Regions from separate parts of the Homo sapiens genome. Here region 1 is linked to region 2. The links are contacts of gene promoters, found by promoter capture Hi-C in blood cells and fetal thymus (Javierre and others, 2016). All regions are on one chromosome and are shown on one strand. Each heading gives the region's core, a stretch centred on a gene start or on the middle of the fragment in contact. The rest is flanking DNA. Distances are from core to core; before and after follow the strand shown. Region 1 has its middle 43 kb from the start of ACSL3-AS1. Region 2 holds the start of AP1S3 (adaptor related protein complex 1 subunit sigma 3).

Region 1 (6,198 bases), core at 222-2,721, 880 kb before region 2:
ATGAGGACTGCCTTTGGGCTATGAGAACCACTCAGCTCCCACCTCCACCCTCCACAGATCCAGAAGGCCTTGGAATATATTCTAGGTAATTTCAGTACATTCCAGAAGTTCCTAGAATTTACTCAGGGTGACTCAGGGGCAATGCTTGAAAGCCACGCTCCCTCGCCTCAGGCTGGAACAACTGACACCACAGAGCTCTCCAGTGGGATCCAGGATCCGGCTGAAGCCACACTCTGCTGGCGTTTCCTGAGATTGCACCTTGGTTGGCCTCCTTCTCTTGTCTTCTTTGTTCTCCTTTCCCTCCCCTGACTGGCATTTTCTTGGGGCATTTTAATCAATCACTTGCACTTGAATGTCCCAGTCTGCATCTGAAAAACCTAACCCAAGACCCCTAATCTCCATCTCCTCCCCTCTTATTCACTCTCCAGCCCAACACAATTTGGCTTCTGGGCACATCATTCCAGGGAAGCAGCTCTTTCAGACAGCCCCCAAAACACGATGTCACTGAATCCAGTGCACACAGTTTAGTTCTGTCTTCCTTGACTTCACAGCACCATTCAATGCCACAGATCCATGGTTCTTGAAGCCCAGGTGTTCCCTGATGACGTCCCTGGCTTTCCCCTACATTTCGTGGCCTTTCTTCAGCTTGTCCTCTTCTATCCAGCCATTGAAACAGAGTGAGTTCTTTAGGCTCAGTCCTCTTTTCCCAGGTGGTCTCACCCAATCTCAGAGCTTCATTGCTACATGAAGGTTACCCACACATGTCTGTTGTAGCACTTTCTCTACTTGCTAAACATCTTTGCTTGAATGTCTCAAAAGTACCTCCAAGCTAAATTCGTAATAACCCTGTGCACAGAAGCAAGCTTGGTCCTCTTGCACTCTGCTCTAATGTGGTGAGTGTAGCACTTCTCCATCTGGCTAGAACCTGGGAGTCATGCTGGACTTCCCCCTCACCCTCGTGCACGTAGCCAACCAAGCACCAACTCCTGTGTCTTGTGCCTTCTGAGTCTCTCTCGAGTGATTCACTTTTCTCTACCACCACCTCCACTCGTGCCTTCTGTCATTCATAACCACGTTGATGGTAAAAATAGCCTCTTCACTGGCCTTTCTGCATTCATTTCTATACTCCTCTAATTTTTTCCCACATGACTGCCAGGCTGATCTTTCCAAAACATAAATTTAATTACATCTTAAAAAATAACTTGCTGAGATATAATTCACATACCACACAATTCATCTATTTAAGGCATAAAATTCATGCTTTTTAATATATTCACAGAGTTGTGCAAACATCACCACAATCTAATTTTAAGATTATTTCCATCATCCCAAAAAGAAACCCTGTATTCATTAGCAGTCACCTCCTGTTCCCCCACACCCCATTCCTGGGCAGCCACGAATCTACTTTCTGTCTCTATGGATTTGCCTATTCTGGACATTTCACATAAATACAATCATATAATACATAGTCTTTTGTGACTAGATTCTTTCACTTACTATGTTTTCAAAGTTTATCTATGTTGTAACACGTATTAGTACTTCATTTTTTTTGGCTGAATAATATTTTATTGCATGGATATATCACATTTTGTTTATTCATTAGTCACTTGATGGACATTTGGGCTGTTTCTCCTTTTCAGCTATTCTGAATAATGCTTCTGAGAGGTTCACATATAAGAGTTTTTGTTATTTTTTTTGAGATGGAGTCTTGCTCTGTTGCCCAGGCTAGAGTGCAGTGGCACTATCAGCTCACTGCAACCTCTGCCTCTGGGGTTCAAGCAATTATTGTGCCTCAGCCTCTTGAGTAGCTGAGATTACAGGTATGTGCCACCACGCCTGGCTAATTTTTGTATTTTTAGTAGAGACAGGGTTTTACCATGTTGGCCAGACTGGTCTCGAACTCCTGACATCAAGGATCTGCCCACCTCAGCCTTCCAAAGTGCTGGGATTATAGGCATGAGCCACTGTGCCTGGCCTCACATATAAGAGTTTTTGAGCGTAGATGTGTTTTCATTTCTCTCAGATATATACTTAGCAATGGAATTACTTGACCATATGCTAATTATATTATATTCTTTTACAAGCTTTTCAATGGCATTTCATGGCTGTTATGATGAATTCAGTCTCCTTTTTCTTGGTGCCCAAGTTTCCATATGGTCTGACCCTCACCTGCCTTGCTGCTGGTGTGGTCCTTGGATAGACTGTGCCATTTTTTTTGTTGATGTCTGTGTCATATTTTGGCTGGAACAATCTCAAATATTAATCTAAATCAACCTTAATCATTTACTGATTTCTATTTCTATGATATATCTATCATATATTACATGATTAGTCCAATCTTACTGTCAGACTGTGATATGGTTTGTTTGTGTCCCCACCCAAATCTCAACTTGAATTGTATCTCCCAGAATTCCCAAGTGTTGTGGCAGTGACCCAGGGGGAGGTAATTGAATCATGGGGGCCAGTCTTTCTCATCCTATTCTTGTGATAGTGAGTAAGTCTCATGAGATCTGATGGATTTATCAGGGGTTTCTGCTTTTGCTGCTTCTTCATTTTTCTCTTGCCGCCGCCATGTAAGAAGTCACCTCCTGCCATGATTTTGAGGCCTCCCCAGCTATGTGGAACTGTAGGTCCAAGTAAACTTCTTTTTCTTCCCAGTCTCAGGTATGTCTTTATCAGCAGCATGAAAACAGACTAATACAGTAAATTGGTACCAGTAGAGTGGGGTGTTGCTGAAAACATACCCAAAAATATGGAAGCCACTTTGGAATTGGGTAACAGGCAGAGGTTGGAACAGTTTGGAGGGCTCAGAAGAAGATAGGAAAATGTGGGAAAATTTGGAACTTCCTAGAGACTTGTTGAATGGCTTTGTCCAAAATGCTGATAGCAATATGGACAATAAGGTCCAGGCTGAGGTAGTCTCAGATGGAGATGAGGAACTTGTTGGGAACTGGAGTATATGTGACTCTAGTTATGTTTTAGCAAAAAGACTGGTGGCATTTTGCTCCTGCCCTAGAGATTTGTGGAACTTTGAACTTGTGAAAGATGATTTAGGGTATCTGGTGGAAGAAATTTCTAAGCAGCAAAGCATGCAAGAGGTGACTTGGGTTCTATTAAAGGCATTCAATTTTATTAGGGAAGCAGAGGAAAACTTGCAGCCTGACTATGGAATAGAAAAGAAAATTCCATTTTCTAGGGAGGAATTCAAGCCAGCTGCAGAAATTTGCATAAGTAGCAAGGAGCCTAATGTTAATCCCCAAGACCATGGGGAAAATATCTCCAGGCCATGTCAGAGACCTTTGAGACAGCCCCTCCATTCACAGGCCCAGAGGCCCAAGAGGAAAAAGTGGTTTCGTGGGCCAGGCCCAGGGTCCTCGTGCTGTGTGCAGCCTAGGGACTTGGTGCTCTGTGTCCCAGCTGCTCCAGCCATGGCTGTAAGGGGCCTACGTACAGCTCAGTTAGCAGCTTCCACGTGGTGTTGAGCCTGAGATGCACAGGAATCAAGAATTGAGGTTTGGGAACCTCCACCTAGATTTCAGAGGATGTATAGAAATGCCTGGATGCCCAGGCAAAAGTTTGCTGCAGGTGTGGGGCCCTCATGGAGAATCTCTGCTAGGACAGTGCGGAAGGGAAATGTGGGGTCACAGCCCCCACACAGAGTCCCTACTGGGGCACTGCTTAGTGGAGCTGTGAGAAGAGGGCCACATTCTCCAGACCCCAGAATCATAGATCCACTGACAGCTTGCACCGTCCACCTGGAAAAGCTGCAGACACTCAACACCAGCTTGTGAAAGCAGCTGGGAGGGAGGCTATACCCTGCAAAGCCACAGGGATGGAGCTGCCCAAGACCATGGGAACCCACCTCTTGTATCAGTGTGACCTGGATGTGAGACCTAGAGTCAAAGGAGATCATTTTGGAGCTTTAAAATTTGACTGCCCCGCTGGATTTCAGACTTGCATGTGCCCTGTAACCCCCTTGTTTTGGCCAATTTCTCCCATTTGGAATGGCTGTATTTACCCAATACCTGTACCCCCATTGTATCCAGGAAGTAACTACCTTACTTTTGATTTTACAGGCTCATAGGTGGAAGGGACTTGCCTTGTCTCAGGTGAGACTTTGGACTGTGGACTTTTGGGTTAATGCTGAAATGAGTTAAGACTTTGGGGGACTGCTGAGAAGGCATGATTGGTTTTGAAATGTGACAACATGAGATTTGGAGGGGCCATGGGTGGAATGACATGGTTTGGCTGTGTCCCCACCCAAATCTCAACTTGAATTGTATCTCCTAGAACTCCCACGTGTTGCAGGAAGGACCCAGAGGGAGGTAATTGAATCATGGGGGCCGGTCTTTCCTGTGCTATTCTCGTGATAGTGAATAAGTCTCATGAGATCTGGTGGGTTTACCAGGGGTTTCCACTTTTGCTTCTTCTTCATTTTCTCTTACCATGTAAGAAGTGCCTTTCACCTCCTGTCATGATTTTTGAGCCCTCCCCAGCCACGTGGAACTGCAAGTCCAGTTAAACCTCTGTTTCTTCCGGGTCAGGTGTATGTCTTTATCAGCAGCATGAAAACGGACTAATACAGACGGATTTCTATTTCCTCTTTTTGCTCCAGGACTTTGGGCCACAGTGGGCTTTTTTTCATCCCCTGTCTTCACTAAACTGTAGGTCTGGAAAGTTCTCTCTGGGCGTTAAAATTTTTTCAGTTAAAATATGACATAGATATCAACAAAGAAATGGCACAGCCTATCCAAAGACCATACCAGCAACTGAATAAAATTTTACTGGTGGCAGGTAACTTCTCAACAGTGGATGAGGTCAGGAGGCTTACTGGAAAGTGAACTCACCAGGGATGAGAATGTTGTTTCTCATGGAGCAAGGAACCCCAAGGTCTGCCACCAAACTAAATTACTCTAGGGTAAAATGATGTGTATTTCTTAGGGTCAGAAGCTCATAGCTTGGTTTTGTGACAGGACACCTCCACTGGCTTCCTGTCTAATCCCTGCATGTGCCTCAGAGGGATTAGAATATAAAGTGAGTGTATTTAATTAGAATATAAAGTGAGTGTCTCCTCCCTTCCCCTAAACTATGAAACAAGAACATTTTACAAAGAGGGTGCTTCTTTGTAATTCCCCCAGTGGGTTTTAAGGAATAAGCTGCACTGAGAGCAAAGTTCTGCCTGCCTTCTGAACGCTGAGGCTTCCTTCTTGCAGTTCTCTAAACTCCAGGACAGGAAATTTCTGCAAGATAGGCTGTGGAGCAATAATGCTAACTCCTAAAGGACCCCCTGGGTCATCCTCAAGATCTCTTGCAGACCAGAGGAACCTTTCCAGACTCTGGGAGCAGCTTGAGTCTTGTCTCGGAGCTGCTTCACAAGGCCAGATACACATCCTGTGGGGCCGCTGTGCCCGAGCACCATGGTCAGTAAGGAGTAAGTCTCCTCATCGCATCACACGTGGGCCTCTGAGTCAGTCTGTTTTCATGCTGCTGATAAAGACATACCTGTGCTGGGCGTGGTGGCTCACACCTGTAATGCCAGCACTTGGGAGGCCAAGGCGGGCAGATCACCTGAGGCCGGGAGTTCGAGACCAGCCTGACCAACGTGGAAAAACCCCATCTCTACTAAACATACAAAATTAGCTGGGCATGGCACATGCCTGTAATCCCAGCTACTCAGGAGGCTGAGGCAGAAGACTCACTTGAACCTGGGAGGCGGAGGTTGTGGTGAGCTGAGATTGTGCCGTTGCACTCCAGCCTGGGCAACAAGAGTGAAACTCTGTCAAAAAAAAAAAAAAAAAAAAAAAAAGACATATTCAGGACTGGGTAATTTATAAAGAAAAAGAGGTTTAATGGACTGACAGTTCCACATGGCTGGGGAGGCCTCACAATCATGATGGAAGGTGAAAGGCACGTCTTACATGGTGGCAGGTAAGCGAGGCTGAGAGCCAAGTGACAGGGGAAACCCCTTATAAAACCATCAGATCTCATGAGATTTATTCATTACCATGAGAGCAGTATGGGGGAAACCACCCCCATGATTCAATTATCTCCCACCGGGTCCTTCCCACAACATGAAGGAATTATGGGAGCTACAATTCAGGATGAGATTTGGGTGGGGACACAGCCAAACTATAGCAGACTCTGAGGGCTAATCTCCTCCCATTCCTTCTCCTTCCCCTGTTTCAAGCTTGCTCTTAC
Region 2 (5,745 bases), core at 2,000-4,499:
ATAATCTCAGCACTTTGGGAGGACAAGGTGGGAATATTACATGAGTTCAGGAGTTCAAGACCAGCCTAGGCAACAAAGTAAGACCTCATTTATACAAAAATCAAAAAATTACCTGGGCATGATGGCACACACCTGTGGTCCCAGCTACATGGAAGGCTGAGGTAGGAGGATGCCTTGAGTCCACTGGGTTGAGGCTGCAGTAAGCCATGTTCATGCTACTGCACTCTACTCTGGGTGATAGAACAAGCCTTGTCTCAAAATAAATAAATAAATAAATAGCTGGGCATGGTGGGACATGCCTACAGTCCCAGCTACTCAAGAAGCTGAGGTAGGAGGGTTGCTGGAGCCTAGGAGGTTGAGGCTGCTGTGAGCTGTGATCACACCACTGCACTCAGCTTGGGCGACACAGAGACCCTGTCTCAAAAATAAATAAATAAAAAGAAAAAACAATAGTAAACCTATTACACATTAAACATAAATAACATTTTTATGACCAATAACAATATTTTTCCAAAGCAAAAAAAAAATTAGTGAAAAGCATGGCACTGTTTTACAATTTTGCAAATCTCCTTAATGTCTGGGCTTATCAAAGACAGTTGGACTTTCCTATCTGCATCTGTGTTCAATCTGTTGTACTATCTCAGCTTATGTAGACACAAGAAAACTTCACTGTAGTCTTGTGAGAATGAGAATGAAATGGGAAAATTAATATCTTAGTATTATTATGAAAATAGTTTTGACCTTGCAGACCTCCAGTAAAAGTCTTGGGGACTGCTGGGGGTACCCAGGTCACACTTTCAGAACCTCTGCCTTATGAGTTAGGAGATATTATCTCCATTTTTCAAATGGGCAAACTGAGACAGAGAGGTCAAGGAATTGTCCAAGGCCATACTGCTAGAATAGCTCAGAGTAGCTAAAATGCAATGAGCATAACAGATTTAACCTCAATTGTTTGTTGCAAGGATTGAATGAGATCGTGAATATAAAGAGCAGGACATCCTGCTTGTCTTATCACAAATGCCCAATAACATTAATGTTTCCCCGCCAGGTGCGGTGGCTCATGCCTGTAATGCCAGCACTTTGGGAGGCCGATGCAGGTGGATCACGAGGTCAGGAGTTTGAGACCAGCCTGGCCAACATGGCAAAACCCCGTCTCTACTAAAAATACAAAAATTAGCTAGGCGTGGTGGCGGGCGCCTGTAATCCCAGCTACTTAGGAGGCTGAGGCAGGAGAATTGCTTGAACTCGGGAGATGGAGGTTGCAGTGAGCCAAGATCATGCCACTGCACTTCAGCCTGGGTGACAGAGCAAGATTCCGTCTCGAAGAAAAAAAAATAATAATAATGTTTCCCATTTAGCAAAAACTGGTAGAAAAGCTGGAGAAACTTCCCACATTTCTGATCAACTCATCACACATATGACACCAGCAAGAAAAAATAAAACTCCACCACAGGTATTGTCCAGAGGAGCAGCTTTTCCTTATAGACCAAACCTTGGCCCATTCCTCAGCACAAAAGCAGCCTTTGATGACTCAGAAACGCAGGGCCTTATTCCAGCCTCTGTTAGGCAAATTACACTGGTGGACTGGGCATCTGTCACCTTGTTCCTTGGGAAACTTGAGCAAGCCAAGAAACCTGCTCCATTATTTACAGCATTGTTTTTGCATCACGCTGTATTTACAAGGAACCCTCAACAGACAAAAATGATGCCGCTAGTGTGTGCAGCCAAACCTTTAACAGAAACCAGCAACTGCGGTCTTGCTGGCCAGGTGCTCAGCACTCCCCGGCTCTCTTTGTTGATCAACTTTCTTAGCCCACGTGGCCCACCCACTCCTGCCTCCGGTGGGCCCACAGGGTGCAGGTCACTTCCCTTCTGCGGATTTGGGAAGTGGTAACACACTTGGGGAAGTGGGACTAGTGACGTTCAGACCACCACACTCTTAAAAGGCTGCCCCTAAACAGCAGGCAAGAGCAAGAGGAGCCTGAGCTATCGCTTCCACCCAAGTGCAGGTCACCAGATCTCTCATCAGCAGGGCTGCGGCCGGCCTCAGCTTCCAACCTGACCCCCTATCCCCTGCCCTTACACACCCCAGTCCATTCTCCAACCACAGCCAAACTGCACACCATGCCGGGTGCAGTGGCTCACCCCTGTAATCCCTACACTTTGGGAGGCCGAGGCAGGCGGATCACCTGAGGTCAGGAGTTCGAGACCAGCCTGGCCAACATGGTGAAACCCCGTCTCTACTAAAAATACAAAAATTAGCTGGGTGTGGTGGCACACGCCTGTAATCCCCGTTACTCGGGAGGCTGAGGCAGGAGAATCGCTTGAACCCGGGAGGCAGAGCCGAGACCACACCACTGCACTTCAGCCTGGGCGACAGAGCGAGATCAGTCTCAAAAAAACAAAAGTGCACAACGGGTAAGGTCAGTTTTCTTGCTAAAACGTCCCCGAGGTTTCCCCTACTCAGTTGGAACCAAAACCAAACTCCTTATTTTGGCCTATAAAAACCCGCCTCACCTGGCAGAAGCCCACCTCTCCTGCCACAAACAAGGCCTTCTCCCCTCCGCTTTGCTCTCTCTAATCCACCTGTAGCGCCCCTCCAGGACCTCCAGCAGCTAGAATGTCATGTCCTTGAAGAGGCTTTGCCAAATCAAAAGTTGCCACTCCACCCGGTTGTATTTGAGACTTTACAGCGCTTCTTACTTTAGAAGTTCTCTTCATTTTACTTGTATATTGGACGTGTCCCTCCCTCCGCATCCCCCTCCTGGAAGGTAAGCTTCCTGGAGAACAGGGGCTCCTCCTGGTCCCCCGCGACATCCCCAGCGCCCAGCACCGAGCCCGGCACAGACTAAGCACTCGGCTAAGGCGGATCGAATGAATGAATGGAGCCGCGGCGCCGCGGCGCCGCGTTGCCGCAGGAATCCCGGGCAAGCGATCCTGGCGCGTCCGCACCGTCTGGGGCAGCGGGGCCACAGGGACGCACGGTTCGGGTGGCCAGGCGGGACTCGGCCCGCACCCCCACCCGGCCGCGCGCCCGGCCCGGACGCCCCAGGTGCCTCCCCGGAGCGCGAGCGCCCCCACCGCCTACCCGGGCCGGCGGTTCCCCCGCACTCACCATCGTGGCTGGGCCGCCGCCTCCCCCGCCTTGCGAGCAAGGAGCGCTGGAGAAGCGAGGGCGAGAGGCGAGCGCTGGAGCCGGTGCGGCTGACAGGTGAGGCGCCCGGCTTAGACCATGGCTGCTTCCCACAATGCCCTGGCACTGAAAGTGTGCAGACTCCTCCCAGCGCGGCTGCCTCCTCCCTGCACGCTCCTCCCCGCTGCCTCCTCCCCGCGCCCTCCTCCCCGCTCCCCCCGCTCCTCGCCCTCCTGCTCTCCTTCTTTCTTCCTTTCCCCTTTCTCCTCCCTTCTCCTCCTCCTCCTCCTCTTCCCTCCTTTCTGCCTCTCCTCTGTACCCCCTCCCCGCCCCCGCCTCGGCTGCAGCTGTTCCCGCCCCGAGCCGGCCGCACCTGGAGCGAATGCACCTGCGCGCGCGGGCGTCTGTACCCCGACAGCCCGCAGCTCGGCGCGGGTGGTCAGGCGAGAGCGCGTGGCCCGCTAGGAACTCCCTGCGCGGGGAACTCCCTGCGCGGAGAACACCGGGGACTTTTCGCGATTCTGCCGCGCGAGTGTGTCCTGTATTCCTTCCGCAAACGTTTATCAAACCTGGCAAAGATACTTCCGATACACTCGCAGAAAGTGCCGGGGGCTGCCTTATCCTAAGCCTCCTAGGGAGGGAGCAGTTGGAAGAGAAAGAACTAGAAGCGTTTTCTTATCCCCTTCTGCCCCCATTTCACTTTTTAAAAAGTAAGCTCTGCAGTCTAAGGGCAAAGATCATTTTAAGCAGGCCCCCATTTATTTATTTATTTATTTATTTATTTATTTATTTATTTATTTATTTAGAGACGGAGTGTCGCTCTGTCGCCCCGTCTGGAGTGCAGTGGGGCGATCTCGGCTCCCTGCAACCTCCGCCTCCTGCGTTCAGGGTGATCCACCCGCCTCGGCCTCCCAAAGTGCTGGGATTACAGGCATGAGCCACTGCGCCCGGCAGCACGACCCCCTTTTAAGAAGTCTCTCCTAAGAAGTTGTGGTGTAGAAAGTTCGTTCTCCAATCTCTCCTCCCCTTGACTTTTCTTAAATCTAGGGCGTTGAGAGTCTCTAAACCCCCAAGCTGTAAACAGAGTTTTTTCTTTTTTCTTTTAATTATATTTACCAGATAGACTAGATGTAAGCAGAGTTTTTAATGCATATTCATGTTTTTGAGAAAGGGAGTCCACTGGTTTTATCAAATAGCTAAAGAGATCCTAGACCCTGCAAAAGTTAAGAATCATTTCCTGGGCCAGGCGTGATGGTTCATGCCTGTAATCCCAACACTTTGGGAGGCCCAGGTGGGCGGATCGCTTGAGACCAGAAGTTCGAGACAAGCCTGGCCAACATGGTGAAACGCCGTCTCTACTAAAAATACAAAATTTAGCTGGGCGTGGTGGCACACGCCTGTAGTCCCAGCTACTAGGGAGGCTGAGGCAGGAGAGAATCGCTTGAACCCGGGAGACAAAGGTTGCAGTGAGCTGAGATCATCCAGCCTAGGTAACAGAGTGAGACTCAGTCTGAAAAAAAAAATGTCATTTCCTGGGTGGTCCCTGGAACCCCAAATCAGTGAAAGTCCTTCCCAGGATGTGTTGTGTACCTTCCTAGGGATGTAGGCCCACCCAGGTGACTGAAAATATGGGAAACTCCATCCACCCCTGCATTCACACTGCAAATATTCATCACTCTAGGCCAGGCCCTACAACAGGAGCCTGGGGGACCCAGCTGGGAACAAACAGGTGGTCTGTCTCCTGGAGCTTACGTCTCTTGTGGGACAACACATAATAAACAAGTAAATAAAATATAAGAAATTAAGATGAGTGCTAAGAAGGAGATATTTGAGTTCCTCGGATGGGCACAGGGAAGCTACATTGATTTAGCTGAGTGGTCAGGTAAGTGCCCCCTGGGGAGGTGACAGAAGACTTGGATGTGAGAAGCCAGCGCTCTGAAGAAGAAGAAAAAAAAGTCCTTCTGGAAACACTTCAAAAAAGGCCTCTATGTGAGTTAAGTGCCAGGAGGCCTAGAGGTGGGCAGGGGCCAGAGGCAATGAGTGTTCTCTACATTAGGGCATCACTGCAAGCCCCCAGGAGAGCCACAGCCTCCAGCCTCAAAGCTCTCAAACCTGGACTTGTGGCATTCTGCCGGGGGCATTGGAAGAGGACTATTTGACAACAGTTAAACCCCAGGCGATGGGATGATTTTGCTTCCTGAAAGAAAAGTGAATCTAGGACAGCTACTTTTTAACTCCTATGTTCTTCCCCCAGGGTCTGTTCCTTCCCTTTCTCAGTACATCATGCTTTATCTAACTAGATAGAATCTAATCTTTGTGCTTCTCCTCCTTTCTAGGTAACTTCAGGGCAGGGCCCAGCTCTGTGCCACCATCCAGAGCCTTGTGCTGTAAGGGTTTCTTTGCTAGTGGGAAAGAAATGGAATTACTAAAGGTGAATTACAAAGCTAAAGAAATCTCAGGCCAGGCGCCGTGGCTCATGCCTGTAACCCCAGGACTTTGGGAGACTGAGGCGGGGGGATCACCTGATGTCAGGCGTTCAAGACCAACCTGGCCAAAATGGTGAAACCCCTAATACAAAAATTAGCTGGGTGTGGTGGCGGGTGCCTATAATC

The links. The method cuts DNA at HindIII sites, captures the fragments that hold promoters and counts their contacts. A CHiCAGO score of 5 or more calls a contact.
Region 1: a contact is called between a fragment that was not itself captured here and the fragment with the promoter of AP1S3 in region 2, in 1 of 17 cell types (M0 macrophages). The highest score is 6.1, in M0 macrophages.

Annotation. Positions count from the first base shown.
Region 1 is chr2:222,959,361-222,965,558 of GRCh38, forward strand. No RefSeq gene overlaps it. Among named protein-coding and RNA genes, the nearest start is that of ACSL3-AS1, 43 kb to the left of the region's middle. RefSeq lists an enhancer at 1,023-1,122. The HindIII fragment of the contact is 1,221 bases long and covers 862-2,082 here.
Region 2 is chr2:223,834,333-223,840,077 of GRCh38, forward strand. It overlaps AP1S3 (adaptor related protein complex 1 subunit sigma 3), which reads right to left and starts at 3,250. Exons shown (of 5, transcript NM_001039569.2): 1 at 3,116-3,250. The coding sequence starts at 3,118. RefSeq lists enhancers at 2,657-2,746, 3,617-3,796 and silencers at 2,857-3,286, 3,317-3,446. The HindIII fragment of the contact is 4,145 bases long and covers 2,775-5,745 here.